Regions from separate parts of the Homo sapiens genome. Here all the other regions are linked to region 3. The links are contacts of gene promoters, found by promoter capture Hi-C in blood cells and fetal thymus (Javierre and others, 2016). All regions are on one chromosome and are shown on one strand. The core of a region is centred on a gene start or on the middle of the fragment in contact, and the rest is flanking DNA. Distances in the headings are between cores, read along the strand shown.

Region 1 (2,700 bases), core at 141-2,640, 680 kb before region 3:
CTGGCAGGATGCAGTGGTGCTTGTTGGCAGTGTGTCCCTCCTGCTGCCTCGTGGTCACCCGAAGGGATGGTATCTGGTCCCACCCGAAGGGATGGTGTCTGGTCCCGATGCATGGTGGCTTCTTGTTGGGTCTTGCGAGAATATGATGGTATCTCTGTTTCCAGTAGTATTAAATGTCCTGTGGTATGAGCAAAAAAGGGACATGGCTTAAAAGTGACTTATTTTGGGGAAAATGCAGTTCTAAAGAATGCAATTTAGCCGGGTATGGTGGATCATGCCTTAATCCCAGAGCTTTGGAAAGCTGAGGTGAGAGAATGGCTTGAGCCCAGGAGTTTAAGGTTATAGTGAGCCATGACAGTGCCACTGCACTTCTGCCTGGGTGACAATGTCTCTCTCTAAAAAAAAAAAAAAAAAAGCAACTTATATGTTAAATGATGGGCAATGGAATGAAAGATTCGATTTCACAGTCTATGAATCTATGTTAATTATTAATTCTCAAAATGATTTTTATACCCAGGGCTCAATGAATAAAATGTTTCTTCATAAAAATTAGAGGAAGGAGACTGAACTGAGTTTAGGTTCCCAAATCATAGGCCTAGTGCCACGGGACAGGTAAAGCCATGAATCTTCTTGTGAATTTGGTTGCTAACTTAGAGCACTGGGTAACTGGGTCCATCTATGTATCCATCCACCATCCTTCCTTCCTTCCATCCACCATCCATCCATCCTTCCTTCCATCCACCATCCATCCTTCCTTCCATCCACCATCCATCCTTTCTTCCATCTACCATCCATCCTTCCTTCCATCCACCATCCACCCTTCCTTCCATCCACCATCCATCCTTCCTTCCATCCACCATCCATCCGTCCTTCCATCCACTATCCATCCTTCCTTCCATCCACCCACCCATTCATCCATCTCAGTGTCCTGATTCTTGTCCCTTAAAAGCTATAGTACAATGTTTTCATTATGTGGTCTGACTTTTAACAAGTACCCCAGATGTGTTAAGTTTGAGAAACTCTGGGCTATACTGAAGACTGCAGAAAAGTACCTTCTCATCAATGAAATCAGTGATCACTCTCTTCGATGATATTTCCCCAGGCATGACTGGCCTCACAAAGAAACTTCCCTTGAGATATGTGCTGTATTCACATGCAAACTTTGATGTGTGCATCTCAACCAAGTGAGCCTACATGTGTTTGCGCTGGATGTGTACTATTTTGTAAAGTGAATTCAGAGAGATGGAGAGTTCAGATCAAGAGGAAGCTTGCTCCCTGCCCTCTAACCTCACACCACCCAGCAGAACTTTTTCACCATCTGAAATTTTTGTTTGTTCATTTATTGCTCATTATCCACCTTCCCAAACCTGAATGTAAACTGTGATATTAAGTACATTGATTGCTTGTTCACAGTGGAGCCCCAGAACCTGGCTTAGATACCAACACGTAGGAACCACTGCTACTGTTACTGTTAATGACTCAATGAGCCACGTAGATAGACACGAGTAAAACACAAGCTTTGCCCAAATAATTGCAGACATTGAGGTGAAGTAGGGATCATAGTGGAGTAAAAAAATGGATAGGATTAGTTTGGGAAACATTTCTAGGAGTGAAATCTGAGAAGCCTTCTGAAAGGCATAGAGAATGGAAGGTAGGAACTTGTTCCTTCTCTGTAGACCAGTTCAGGCAGAGGCCTTGAAGCGGAAATTGAGAAACTGGTTCTGAAAAACAAGAAGCACAGTCTGGCTGGAACAGAGGGAACTTGGAGAGGAGAAGTCACAGATGAGAGTGGCCATAGGGTGGTGCTGGGTGAAGGAGAGTTTGAAGGCAATGGTCAGAAGTTTATATTTGGTCCAGATGGTAATAGCAAGCCACCGGAGGGCCATGTTTACACATTTTCAAAATCCAATTAGGATACCACATGTTTTTGTGCTGTAATCACCCATTTTGGACCCATTAAATAAATTAGTTGAAAGAGAAAAACAAAGAAAAAAAATAAAACGATGTGTCATTTGATAGCATTAGGAAATCATGGGATAAATGTATTAAATTGGAATGTTTGACCTGGAACGAAATTAATCCAAATATGGTCTTGATGACTGAGTCTCAAACTGAGCCAGGCCCACAGCTGATGTTTGAAAATATGAATGGTTAAAAAACAAACAAACAAACAAAAAGAAATGATGGTGGTTTGGGTGAGGAAAATAGGCATATCTTTCCCTTTGAAGGGTTTGGACATTCACTTACTGAGGGCAGAAGCCTGGACCTGCTGATTTCTCATGCTCGATTCCAAGCTCTAGATTATGACAGTTCTATAAGAACACTGGTTGACACGCATGAGGAGGAAGCAGCTGTTTCAGTGGAATTCCCTCTGGAGAGGAAGGAAGTCCAGCCATCCAGATGAGATCAGGCAGAGGGAGGCGGATAGAAGAACAAGCAGGCACTCAGAAGAGGGGAGCTGTACAAACCTGGGGTTTCGTGTGTACCTACTGTACATCCTTTCTTTAGCCTCAGCCACAAATTAGAACATGCAGAAAAGATAGTAGAAGACAAAAGGGAAGTGAGAAGGTGGACACAGATGCTGCTTTATTGGGAGAAAGTAATAATCTTTGTCTCTTCTGCTAGTATGATTTATTTCTTAGAGCCCCCACTATTCAAAGTGTGGTACCCCAACTGGGGTATCCCCCAACCTCTAGGGGA
Region 2 (2,700 bases), core at 66-2,565, 660 kb before region 3:
TGGCTTTCATCCTTTAGGAGTTCATTTAACCCTTCTGATTTTTGACTCATCCATTAAGGCAGTGATAACATACAGTCTGGAAAATACACATAAAGAGGATGGTTATAAAATAATAAGCAAATAAACATTCATTTTACATGTTTCCTTGCACTCTTTACTTCCTCCTCTCGTCCCTCCCTTTACATTTTCCTGCTGAGAAATTTTAAGATTAGATTTCCAAGTTATCTGCTGCTTGAATTTTTCACACATTTTTATTTAGTATCTAAGGATTTCCCACACCACCCCAATTTCCATCCTGGATTAATCATACATTATAAATTCTGAATGTATGCTGACATTTCTGTTTGGTCTTTACAGTTATGATAAAAAGTTAATTCCAAGGTGAGTCTTCATTGGCTAGAAGTGAGATCGTTGCCTCTGAGTTGTGGGAGTAGCCCAGGGTGGTGAGTGAGGAGAAAGGGAGGAAACAGGTCAGACCACCCCCAAGGGAGGAGGATACAGAGGGGAGTGCTGTAATGATTACTCATAGTTGGAGGACATATTAGTGCATCGTAGATAATGTAGTAGGAACCAAGTGCCACAGGATTGATTATTTGTTTATTTTGAGATAAGAGTCTCACTCTGCTGCCCAGGTTGGTGTGCAGTGACACGATCTCAGCACACAGCAACTTCCGTCTCCCGGGCTCAAGTGATCTTCCCACTTCAGCTTCCCAAGTAGCTAGGACCACAAATGCAAGCCACCACGCTGGCCTAATTTTTAAATTTTGTGTAGAGATGGGGCCTCACTATGTTACCCAGGCTGGCCCATAGGATTATTTAAATCAAGAATTCTCTGTCTTCTATGCTAATAGCTTATGCCAAGTCTCGGCAGGGCAGTTCACTGAAACCTGAAATGATGGCCTGAAATGTCACAGGTTGGTGAGGATGCTAGCAATATGGTCTGGGCTCTCTGATTTATGAATTTTGGAAGCTGTGTCTGCATAGTACTGCTAAAAAGGACTGAGAAAGAAAATTATCTGTTTTCTACCCAGTTGCTTTGCCAAGTAAGAACAAAATCATTTGGAATGGAATTGTCTCAACTGATTGATCCACAGTGGTAAAAATAGTCTTTTCCAGACAGGTCAAGGTTACAGCATGACTGTCTGTGGCCATCTGTGACTTCCACTTCAAGCCCGTCATTGGCTCCCTGTGCTTTCTGGACAAGGGCATCACGATCTGACCGTTGCCTACCTCCTGTTGGCTTTTCCTTGTTTCAAAGGCTATATTTCAGATATTCTGAACTTTCAAAATTTCCAGAAGGCCAACATTCTTCTTCCAAATTCTTTAGATCATACTTACCATTTCTCCTAGAATGACCCACCCACTCATCTCTATTACCTTCCTCTCTTACTCTTCTCTGAGCACCCTCCCTAACCCCTAATGGGCTGCATGCCTGGCATATTGTGTGCCCCATTGCATCATTTACTTCCCTTGTTGTGGCACTCTTCTCTCCACCTTGTACTTACCTGATCATGCATCCTCCTCTCTCTACTAGAATGCAAGCTCATGAGTATAGGAGCCAGCTTCACTCCATCATGCTCATGGAGTGGAGCCCTGTGCCCAGTATCTAGTAGGGTCTCAATGAATGAATGAATGAATGAATGAATGAACCTAAAATTAGACTGAAGATGCTTGAAGCACATGCTAAAAGCTGGGGGATTATATGAACAAGACAGGAAATTCATATTATTGCCTTTCACACCACAGCTGTAAGGGCTGTAGAACTAAACCAACAAGCAAATACACACAACAAAAGAATTATCTTCCCCAGATAGGCCAAGTGCACATCTCCAGACTTGGGGTACACACTGCTGGTTACCTACCTAGTACCCATGTGCATCTTTTTCCTTGCTAATAGAATCCCAGTTTTGTTCAAGGGGACAATGTCCTACATTTTAAAAATAAAAGCTACATTTCTCATGTTTTTTTTTTTTTCTTTTTCAGTGGAGTTCACCATCTCAGACAATTCTCACCAGTGAGAAGCAGAAGATTGCTGGCGATTCAGAGAAAGTTTCATTTTCCTGATACGAAGGTATCCTTTCCTTCCTGTTGCCTGTCTTCCTCTTTTTTTGCCTGGAATGTAAAGGAAAGGCAAGAGTAGACTCACTGTAAGTACACAACTACATTCTAAGAAAGTCAGACCAGAAAGACGGAAAGAGCCTTGAACCTTAAAAATATGGTGGAGCCTACCTTCAGATGTGTCATCAGAGAAAAATAAACTGGCTAAGCCACAGGAGACTAATTTGTGTTCTATGCAGAATGCCACCTCTGAGTGACACAGAGCTTTATCTCTAGGCTCCTGAAGTGAGTGCTTTTCAGTGGGGTAAAAACAAAAAACCCCAGTTTTTGTTTGTTTATTTGTTTGTTTTGAGACGGAGTCTCACTCTGTCGCTAGGCTGAAGTGCAGTGGTGAGACCTTGGCTCACTGCAACCTCTGCCTCCCGGGTTCAAGCGATTCTCCTGCCTCAGCCTCCTGAGTAGCTGGGACTATAGGCACATGCCATCATGCCCAGCTAATTTTTGTATTTTTAGTAGACACAGGGTTTCACCATGTTGGCCAGGATGGTCTCGATCTCCTGACCTTGTGATCCACCCACCTTGGCCTTCCAAAGTCCTGGGATTACAGGCATGAGCCACTGCGTGGGGCCAAAAAACACCCCA
Region 3 (2,700 bases), core at 182-2,681:
ACACTGTGATTATGATAGTGGTAAATTCACTGAGGCAAGGGCCAAGCAGGGCTGCAGATGGATAGGAAAGGTTCTCTGGCATCTTTCTATAAACTTACGAGGATGCTGGCCATGATGATGGTGGCGGTGGTAAGGGGAGTTCCTCTGACTCCGACCTCATGTCTTTGGCAGGAGTTGAAATGAATAATAAAGCTGGGTTTATGATTAGATAGAATACCAGAGCAGAGAGAGCAGTTAGAGGGAGAAGCTGTCTTATTTTAGGAAGCATGATGACTTATTTTTTCAAAATCTGAATTCGATATTCCCCTTTGCTAAGAATTGGTGTGGGTTTTGTTGTTGTTGTTTGTTTCTTAACAAAATAAAAGAGAAGAAGATTCCCATAAGCAGAGCTTAATCATTTAAATCTAAAAAGGCAATCAGCAGTTGATTTTAGGGTGGCAGGGTCCTGCCAAGGCCTTAGGAGAAGGCCGAGGGAAACCTCCCAAGCCTTGGATAACTAGCCTGGAGGGTGTGCAGGTTTCCTCCAGCTTGGGCACATCTGCCTTGCCCCATAGAGAATGTTAACAAGATACCTGCTGTTTTCCCTTCTGCCTCTATGCAGGACAGCTTCTGAAATCCTAAACTGCACAGGGTGTCACTCCAAAAACAGACAGATAGTAGCTGCTAAATTAGAGAACCCAGAGGGCACAAGGTTGGGTTTTGTTTTTCTAGGAAAGAGTGTAAAACTGGAGTGTCTGACTAGTGCCCCGGATAGGGAGGCTTAATAGGTTTGGGGTAACTCATCCCCATGAGCTCTGCTCTACTCTCATCCACACCTGCCAGAAGGGGTCAGGGTGAAGCCGATGGACAGCAGTGCTGACCCGCATGCAGTGGACTTTCCATGAATAACACCCAAGGCTGACTACAGATGTTTAGGTGGGGGTGCCGAGGGAGGGTTACTTGGCTGACTAGAATTAGGGACAGCCGTGTGCAAATTGCTTTTTTAGGGCCAGAGAGGCTGAGGCTGCTGGCTTCCAGTCACACAGCCTACAGGACAGCCCCTGATTTCACAAGAGCAGGTTTCTGATGCATGATCTAGCCCCACCCCTTCTTCACAGGCAGCTGTACTTGGAAGCAAATGATTTAGTGTTCCTGAGAGAGGATTGTACAAAGAGAGTACTCATTAGAGGGGGCTCAATCTGTCAGGTGCTGTTATATTAGGATCAGAGAGTCATCATAAAATGACTTTCATGCTGGTCTTGGCTGATAATTAACTGCATGGCATCGCCTGCGTATTGTAGAGAGGCAAGGGTGCTGATTTATGCATCCGTTTAATTATCTGAATTGAAAGACTCTGTTCCCTGTATTTGCATCCACTGCCTGCGTGCTTTCTCTCTCCCCCATATTTCTGACATTTGGATTTTCCCCCTACTAATTGACATGCCTGTCGCCTCCTTCTCCTGGTGTCCATTTCTGGAACTGCTATTTGTATATTGCATGATATTTTATCAGGAAAAAATATAAAACAGATCTAATTTCATGAAAATGCTGTTGCCATAATGCTCAGGAGAACAGGGGGAAGAGAGAGATTCAAGTCTTCCTAATGTCTACCTTATATGCAGGTACATTTTACAAGTTCTATTGTATTCTGACTTATTAAGCAGTGCATATTTCTTTCTTTTACATTAGCTTTCATTGCAGAAGGGTGTGGGGAGATGAGACTGCTGGAAACTGACGTGGGATTGATGTTTATCAGGGCTGTAGGCTTCAGAAATATATTAAGCCTCGGAATGTCCTAGGTATGAAAAAGATAATAAATAACAGGTCAATTTATTATATTCCCTTTATCTCTATATTACCTGAGAGAGATTGCTATACTGCAGTGACACTTTCAAGATGCCCCAATCCTCCAATCTCCATGCATAACAATTTGAAAAAGGGAAGGTTGACTAAGGCTGGGATGTTCAGGATCAATTTCTAATCAGTTTCAGGTTTTACTCAAATATCTCATGCTGTAAACTCTTGAAATGAATGTCTTCCCATAGTGCGCCGTGAGCAGGTTCTGCATTAGTTTGTACAGGTGCGACCTAGGTTCCTGCACTATTACCTAGCTAACCAGATATAGCTGGTTGCTTTGCGAACCTTTCATTACCTGCTCTCTAATAATATTCTTTTCATCCTCTGTGCTATTTTTTCCCTCCCGAGGCTTGTGAGCAAGGCTGTATCACAGCCTGCTCTGCCTGAGTAATTCACTAAGAAAGTCCCACGCAAACCCATGTGGGTGATAATATTTCATCACTTAAACCTCTATGAGCTTGGTGGACACATACCAAAGAGAGAGAAAAAGAGGTGCAGAAAAATGGGCAAAGAGAAATTTTGTACCTCACAGGGAATACCTCTGAAATGCTGCTGGGTGGGAAGGATTGGACAGAGGAGAGACTGTGTAAGCTGGAAGGAAAGATAGCTGGAAGGGTGTTTGCAGCACATTTTCCTTTGCTTTCAGAATTTTAAAAATGTTTTGAATAAGTCAATCATGAAGGCATGGCAAGGGTTAAGCAACTAAGCCCCTTGTTGTTCCCTCCCCCTACACTAAGATGCAAAATGCTGGACTCATCCAAAAGTCCAGCATCTCAGATTTGTGGGTCTATGAACATTTTCAGTTAAATAAGCAACACACACATGCAGTGTTTCGATTTGGTTTTGTTTTCCTCACCAGGGTCC
Region 4 (2,700 bases), core at 105-2,604, 700 kb before region 3:
TAGCTTCAAATTTTTCTTCTACAGCTTCCTCATTTCTCAGCTTTCACAGAAGTGAAGAGAGTTAGGGCCTTGCTTTGGATTAGGCTTAAATTAAGGGAATGTTGTGGCTGGCTTGATCTTCTGTCCAGGCCACTCATACTTTCTCCATATCAGCAATAAGTCATTTTGCTTTCTCATTCCTTTCCTTTTGCATTCACAACTTGACTAACTACTTGGCACAAGAGGCCTAGCTTTTGGCCTATTTCAGCTTTTGACGTGTCTTCCTCGCTAAGCTTAATCATTTCCAGCGTTTGATTTAAAGAAAGAGATGTGCAACTCTTCCTTTCACTTGAACACTTAGATGCCATTGCAGGGTTATTAATTAGCCTAATTTCAGTATTGTGGTGTCTCAAAGGAATAGGGAGGCCTGAGGAGATGGAGAAAGATGGAGAATGCTGGTTGGTGGAGGAGTCAGAGCAATTCCAACATTTATTAATCAGATTTGCCATCTTCACTGTTCCTTGCACCTCAAAACAATTGCAATAGTAACATCAAAGATCACTGATCACAGATCACCATAAAAGATATAATAATAATTTGAAAAATTGGAAATATTTTGAGAATTACCAAAATGTGACACAGAGACACGAAGTGAGTGCAGGCTGTTGGAAAAATGACACCGATAGACTTGTTGGATACAGAGTTGCCACAAGCCTTCAATTTGTAAAAAATGCAGTATCTGTGAAATGCAATAAAATGAAGCACAATAAAGTGAAGTATGCCTCTACGTTCTCACTTCATCTATTGTATCTTGATTTGTTTAGGGTGAGGCAGGCCGGAGGGAATTTACTTCCTCCCGTTTGACCATGTGTCTGGTGAGAAGACCCACCTGCAGCTCCAGGAATGCCCCCATATTGGTTTAAGTGTTTCAGTATTTTCACCTTCAGCCCCTGTGATTGGGAAAGAATGGGCATGAAACAACTTGGGCCAATAAATGATAATACCTCCAGGACGAGCACGTATCAGAAGAGCCTTTCCCTCTTCTGCATGGTGTTAGAAGATGGAAGCTGAGTTTTCTCAGCTATTTTGTGGCAAGAACAGTGGTGAGGGGAACATCTGAACTGCCAGAGAATGTGTTTCCAGAAAGAGGTCCCAATCCAGACCCCAAGAGAGGGAATTCTTTCTTGCTGCAAGAAAGAATTCAGGATCAGTCCACAGAGTAAAGTGAAAGCAAGTTTATTAAGCAAGTAAAGGAATAAAGAATGGCTACTCCATAGGCAGAGCAGCCCCGAGGGCTACTGGTTGGCTATGTTATGGTTATTTCTTGATTATATGCTAAACAAGGGATGGCTTATTCATGGGTTTTCCGGAAAAGGGGTGGGCATTTTCCAGAACCGAGGGTTCCTCCGCTTTTTAGACCATATAGGTTAACTTCCAGATATTGCCATGGCATTTATAAACTGTCATGACACTGGCGGGAGTGTCTTTTAGCATGTTAATGTGTTATAATTAGCATATAATGAGCAGTCAGGACAACCAGAGGTCACTTTCATGGCCATCTTGATTTTGGTGGGTTTTGGCTTCTTTACCACACCTGTTTTATCAGCAAGGTCTTTACGACCTGTATTTTGTGCTGACTTCTTGTCCCATTTTGTGACTAAGAATGCCTTAACCTGTTGAAAACACAGCCCATTGTAGGTCTCGGCCTTATTTTACCGAGTCCCTATTCAAGATGGAGTTGCTCTGGTTCAAATACCTCTGACAAAAGTATCCCTCTTGTGGGTCTATAGGATCTGTGAAAACTGCTTCCCCATATTCTGAAAAGGGTTTTTCTGGGAAAAATGGGCCATAGGAGGTATGTATGAAGTAGTTCTGGTTATAATAGGAAGAGATTTGGCTTTGGAGTGAGCCAAGCCTAGCTTCAAATTCCAGGCACAGCCACACCTAGCAGTAATTCTACCCTAGGTGAGTTATTTTCTCTTTGGACCTCAGTTTCAGTACCTGTAATGTGGGTACAAGAAAACATATCTATGAGCTGTTGTGAGAATTTAAGGCATATATTCAAGAGCAAGAGTGTTGTGAGGCTTGAGCATTGTGAGAGAGGACTGTGGACACAGACACAGTTATGTGGGGAGGGGACAGGTAAGAGAATGAAGGAGGAATTAGGGCACAGACCTCCTTGTATGCAGGCTCAAGGGAAATTGGTTCCCTGGTATAGGTTTCTCAACCTTGGATATGTGCATAAATCACCTGGAGATCTTACTAAAATGCAGATTCTGATTCAGGAGTTCTTGCATGAGGTCTGAGTTTCTGTTTCTAACTAGCCCCTGCCTCCTGGTCATATGGATCTTCTGGTTTGTGGACCTCTTGGGTTAAAATGCTCTAGATCACAAATGAGGGCAGACCTCATCACCCTTATTTTTATTCCTGAGAAGTCTTTCTACTACCCACTAAATGGCAAGCTTTTCCAAGGCAATCCTAGATGTGTTCAGTGTTCTGTGCACTGTGTTTGCTCACTCTATGGAGGAAGAGAGCTCAATTATGGGAGGTAAAGGAGATGCCCTGATGCTGTCTGCTTACCCTGCAGAGCTGAATGCGAGAGGCTTACAAATGGACCTGAGCTCAAAAGTCAGGAAGTGTTGGTAGAATCCTGGCCAAAGCCTGGGTGGAGAGCTTCTCAGAGGGAAGATGGAAAATGAAAGGCTTTCTGTGTCACTGGTT
Region 5 (2,700 bases), core at 121-2,620, 560 kb before region 3:
GAAAGTCATTTCTTCCACAAAGATTAAATCCTTTGTGTTAAAGCAATCTATTTCTTTCCAATCCAGAGCCTGTGAGTGATTCTATAGGGTAGTGAACACAATAAACTATTACCAGAGAATAGTATTTTTGTCAATGATTTAGGTGATATTTTAAGAGGTATAAGGAGTTTCTATAGAATTTTCCTTCCATAGAGCCTGGGGAAGAGGCTAAGGGGCTGGGGGGGAGGGCAGCTCCTATCAACCAGCTCTACCTGCTCCCTCTCCAGTCCCATCCTGTCCCCTGAACCTGGCTGCCCTGGACTCCAGGTGCCACCTATGTGCTGGCTATAGCTGATTTGTAGTGATTTCCTGAAATGTTCCACTGAGCAGCTTTCTGGGCCGGGAAAGAAATAGCACAGACTTCAAATTTATGAGGTCTGCCACAAGTATGGGATGAGAGGAAGTTCGAGGAATTTTCCAACCCTGTGCTAGCCACCTTTCTTAGTCTACAATGCTTTAATATGATCATAGATAAAGGTAGTCAATGTTTGTCCTAGGATTCAGCCAGTTAAAAATAAAGTAATTGAGAGTCTGACATTGGATAAATTACATAACTTTCCAGGCTTAATTTCTCATCTATATCATAGAAATAACAATATTTATCTGATTAGATTTTTAAAACTCCAATACATGTATAAGTCTTGCCACATAACTATATGTCCAATTAAAAAGTGTTTTCCTTTTCTTTCTTATGTGGTTTAAAATGCACGAGTTTTTACACAATCCAATTTTACTGGCTTGGCAGTGTAGAATTTCCTCTGTGTGTACCTCGAGGGTACTGAAGTTCAGGCTCTAGGGGTCTGTTTCTTGAATGGCAGGGCACCTTTGGCTTCCTTTCTTGCAAAACCTTGAACTCAGGCGTGTGGGGCAGGGGGAGGATTTGTGCAGTCTTGCATGGACGTCTACAGTGCCTTGGCTGAACAATGTGTTAATTATGGCCTTTCCGTCTCAACTGCACCTGCCCATTTCACTATCAGAAAGAAAAATCTCTCCTTTCTTCCTTGCTTCACTGTTATACTTTAGAACCATGATTGTTTTGCCGAAATAGATATTGACTAGAGAAGGACAAACCTCAAAGGTTTTGGATTAAGTTCTCTTTCTGATAAACATGAGGGAGTTTGAATGCTCTGGGGAGTCTTATTTAAGCTATCTTAACCTTTGGGGCCCATGAAAACTGGAAGAAAAAATTTCTTTCTTACCACTTTCTTTGGTTTGCTACCATTAGAAGAGACCATGCTGCAAGCACAGGTCACTCCAAGGCTTTAGCTGCAATTGTTTTGTGATGTATTTTGAAATCCTAGGGTGACAATACTTGTATACATGCAAAATAGGAATAATAAGCTAATTTTTGGCATACCAGGGGTTCTTAATCCCTTTTACTCTTTGGACTGTCAATGGGAAAGTCTGGTGAGTTCCAGGAACCCTTTTCCTAGTAACATTTTTTCAGTGCCTGTACTAAAAACATATAGGATTTAAAGAAACTGAATTATACTGAAATACAGTTTTCTCTGTGAGCCAATCAGTTTCTGTTGAAATGCAAAAAGATCTTTAAAAATTACATTTGCTGCCTTTTTATTATTAGAAAAACCCTGCTTATTATTCAGTAAAGGTGTAACATTTGAAAATTATAATAAAAGTGTAAGAAAAATTTAAAAATCACCTACAGCTTCAATTTCAAAAGAATCTTTGAATATTAATTCACCTCTGATAGGTGGTCAGATTACAAAGGAGAATTTTTTGGTTTTTTTTTTTTCAATGTTCAGAGCACAGTCAAGGTGCAAATGAATGGTGAGCACAACCTTTGAGAACTTTTCAATCAACACCTAGTGCTGGAGATGAATGGGACACAAGAGCTTAGCCAATTCAGAAGTACTGAATCTAGTGTGAGCATCAGATGCATCTGGGGAGATTGTTCTAAAATTTAGATTTTCGGGTTCTATTCCAGGCCTTCTGACCAAGAATATCCAGAGACAAGGTCGAAGAATCTGAACTTTTAAAGGCCGCTTAGGAACATCTGATTATCAGCAAGTCTTGGGAACCACTGATAATACAACGCGCACCCCCCCACTCAGTGCAGAATGCTTCCCAACAAGGTCTCTAAATGCTTCTTCCAAAGCATGTTTGGGTTTGGAGATTCAGCTCAAATGCTCTGACACAGACTGTCCTAAACTGGTATCATCCCAGCCTGTGACAGAAATTGAAAAACAAGTAATACTTCGTGCTCTAAAATCTTGATTTCTGCTTAGTTGTGTCCTCATCAAATAGCTGCTTTCTATTTTCCATGGCCAAGTGCACAGAAGAAGGGGGTGGGGGCGGGGGGTGGCTGGCTGGCTCTAGCATTTGGCTGGACAGAGTGAGAGCTATATTGGAGGGGGGGCCGGGGTGGGGGACTGATTCTTGGAGTGACTCTCTGGATCTGGATCGTGGGCTTTTTCATCCTCGTGAAGTCTACGTGCTGCGTTTTATTCATTAGCACCTACAAGGGACTAATTGCCATCAGGCATGTAGGTGGAATTCCTGGCAGGGAGCAAGAAATGGAATAGGTTTGATGACAACCAATGATCTGCCAAAGCCCTGTCAGAAGGAGAACAGAGTCTTGCTGTCACTCATCCACCCCTTTAAATTCAAATGAAGATGCTTCTGAGTGGGGAGGGGGAGGGG

Evidence for each region. Contacts are between HindIII fragments. The CHiCAGO score rates a contact against its expected background, and 5 or more counts as called.
Region 1: a fragment that was not itself captured here is called in contact with the fragment with the promoter of INHBA-AS1 in region 3 in 5 of 17 cell types (endothelial precursors, M1 macrophages, M0 macrophages and 2 more); the score reaches 10.2 in endothelial precursors.
Region 2: a fragment that was not itself captured here is called in contact with the fragment with the promoter of INHBA-AS1 in region 3 in 1 of 17 cell types (neutrophils); the score reaches 5.1 in neutrophils.
Region 4: a fragment that was not itself captured here is called in contact with the fragment with the promoter of INHBA-AS1 in region 3 in 1 of 17 cell types (neutrophils); the score reaches 6.4 in neutrophils.
Region 5: a contact is called between a fragment that was not itself captured here and the fragment with the promoter of INHBA-AS1 in region 3, in 1 of 17 cell types (neutrophils). The highest score is 5.2, in neutrophils.

What each region holds. Positions count from the first base shown.
Region 1 is chr7:41,008,812-41,011,511 of GRCh38, forward strand. It overlaps a transcript of SUGCT not described here. Among named protein-coding and RNA genes, the nearest start is that of LINC01450, 30 kb to the left of the region's middle. The HindIII fragment of the contact is 250 bases long and covers 1,266-1,515 here.
Region 2 is chr7:41,030,375-41,033,074 of GRCh38, forward strand. It overlaps a transcript of SUGCT not described here. Among named protein-coding and RNA genes, the nearest start is that of LINC01450, 52 kb to the left of the region's middle. The HindIII fragment of the contact is 8,480 bases long and covers 1-2,700 here.
Region 3 is chr7:41,692,488-41,695,187 of GRCh38, forward strand. INHBA-AS1 (INHBA antisense RNA 1) reads left to right here and starts at 1,432. Exons shown (of 4, transcript NR_027118.2): 1 at 1,432-1,601. All of the region lies in intron 2 of INHBA (inhibin subunit beta A), which reads right to left. The HindIII fragment of the contact is 8,944 bases long and covers 1-2,700 here.
Region 4 is chr7:40,990,823-40,993,522 of GRCh38, forward strand. It overlaps a transcript of SUGCT not described here. Among named protein-coding and RNA genes, the nearest start is that of LINC01450, 12 kb to the left of the region's middle. The HindIII fragment of the contact is 2,169 bases long and covers 271-2,439 here.
Region 5 is chr7:41,131,240-41,133,939 of GRCh38, forward strand. It overlaps LINC01449 (long intergenic non-protein coding RNA 1449), which reads left to right. Exons shown (of 6, transcript NR_110832.1): 6 at 1,985-2,262. The region is part of intron 1 of LOC105375241 (a long non-coding RNA gene); the gene reads right to left. Among named protein-coding and RNA genes, the nearest start is that of LINC01449, 31 kb to the left of the region's middle. RefSeq lists a silencer at 868-947. The HindIII fragment of the contact is 5,556 bases long and covers 1-2,700 here.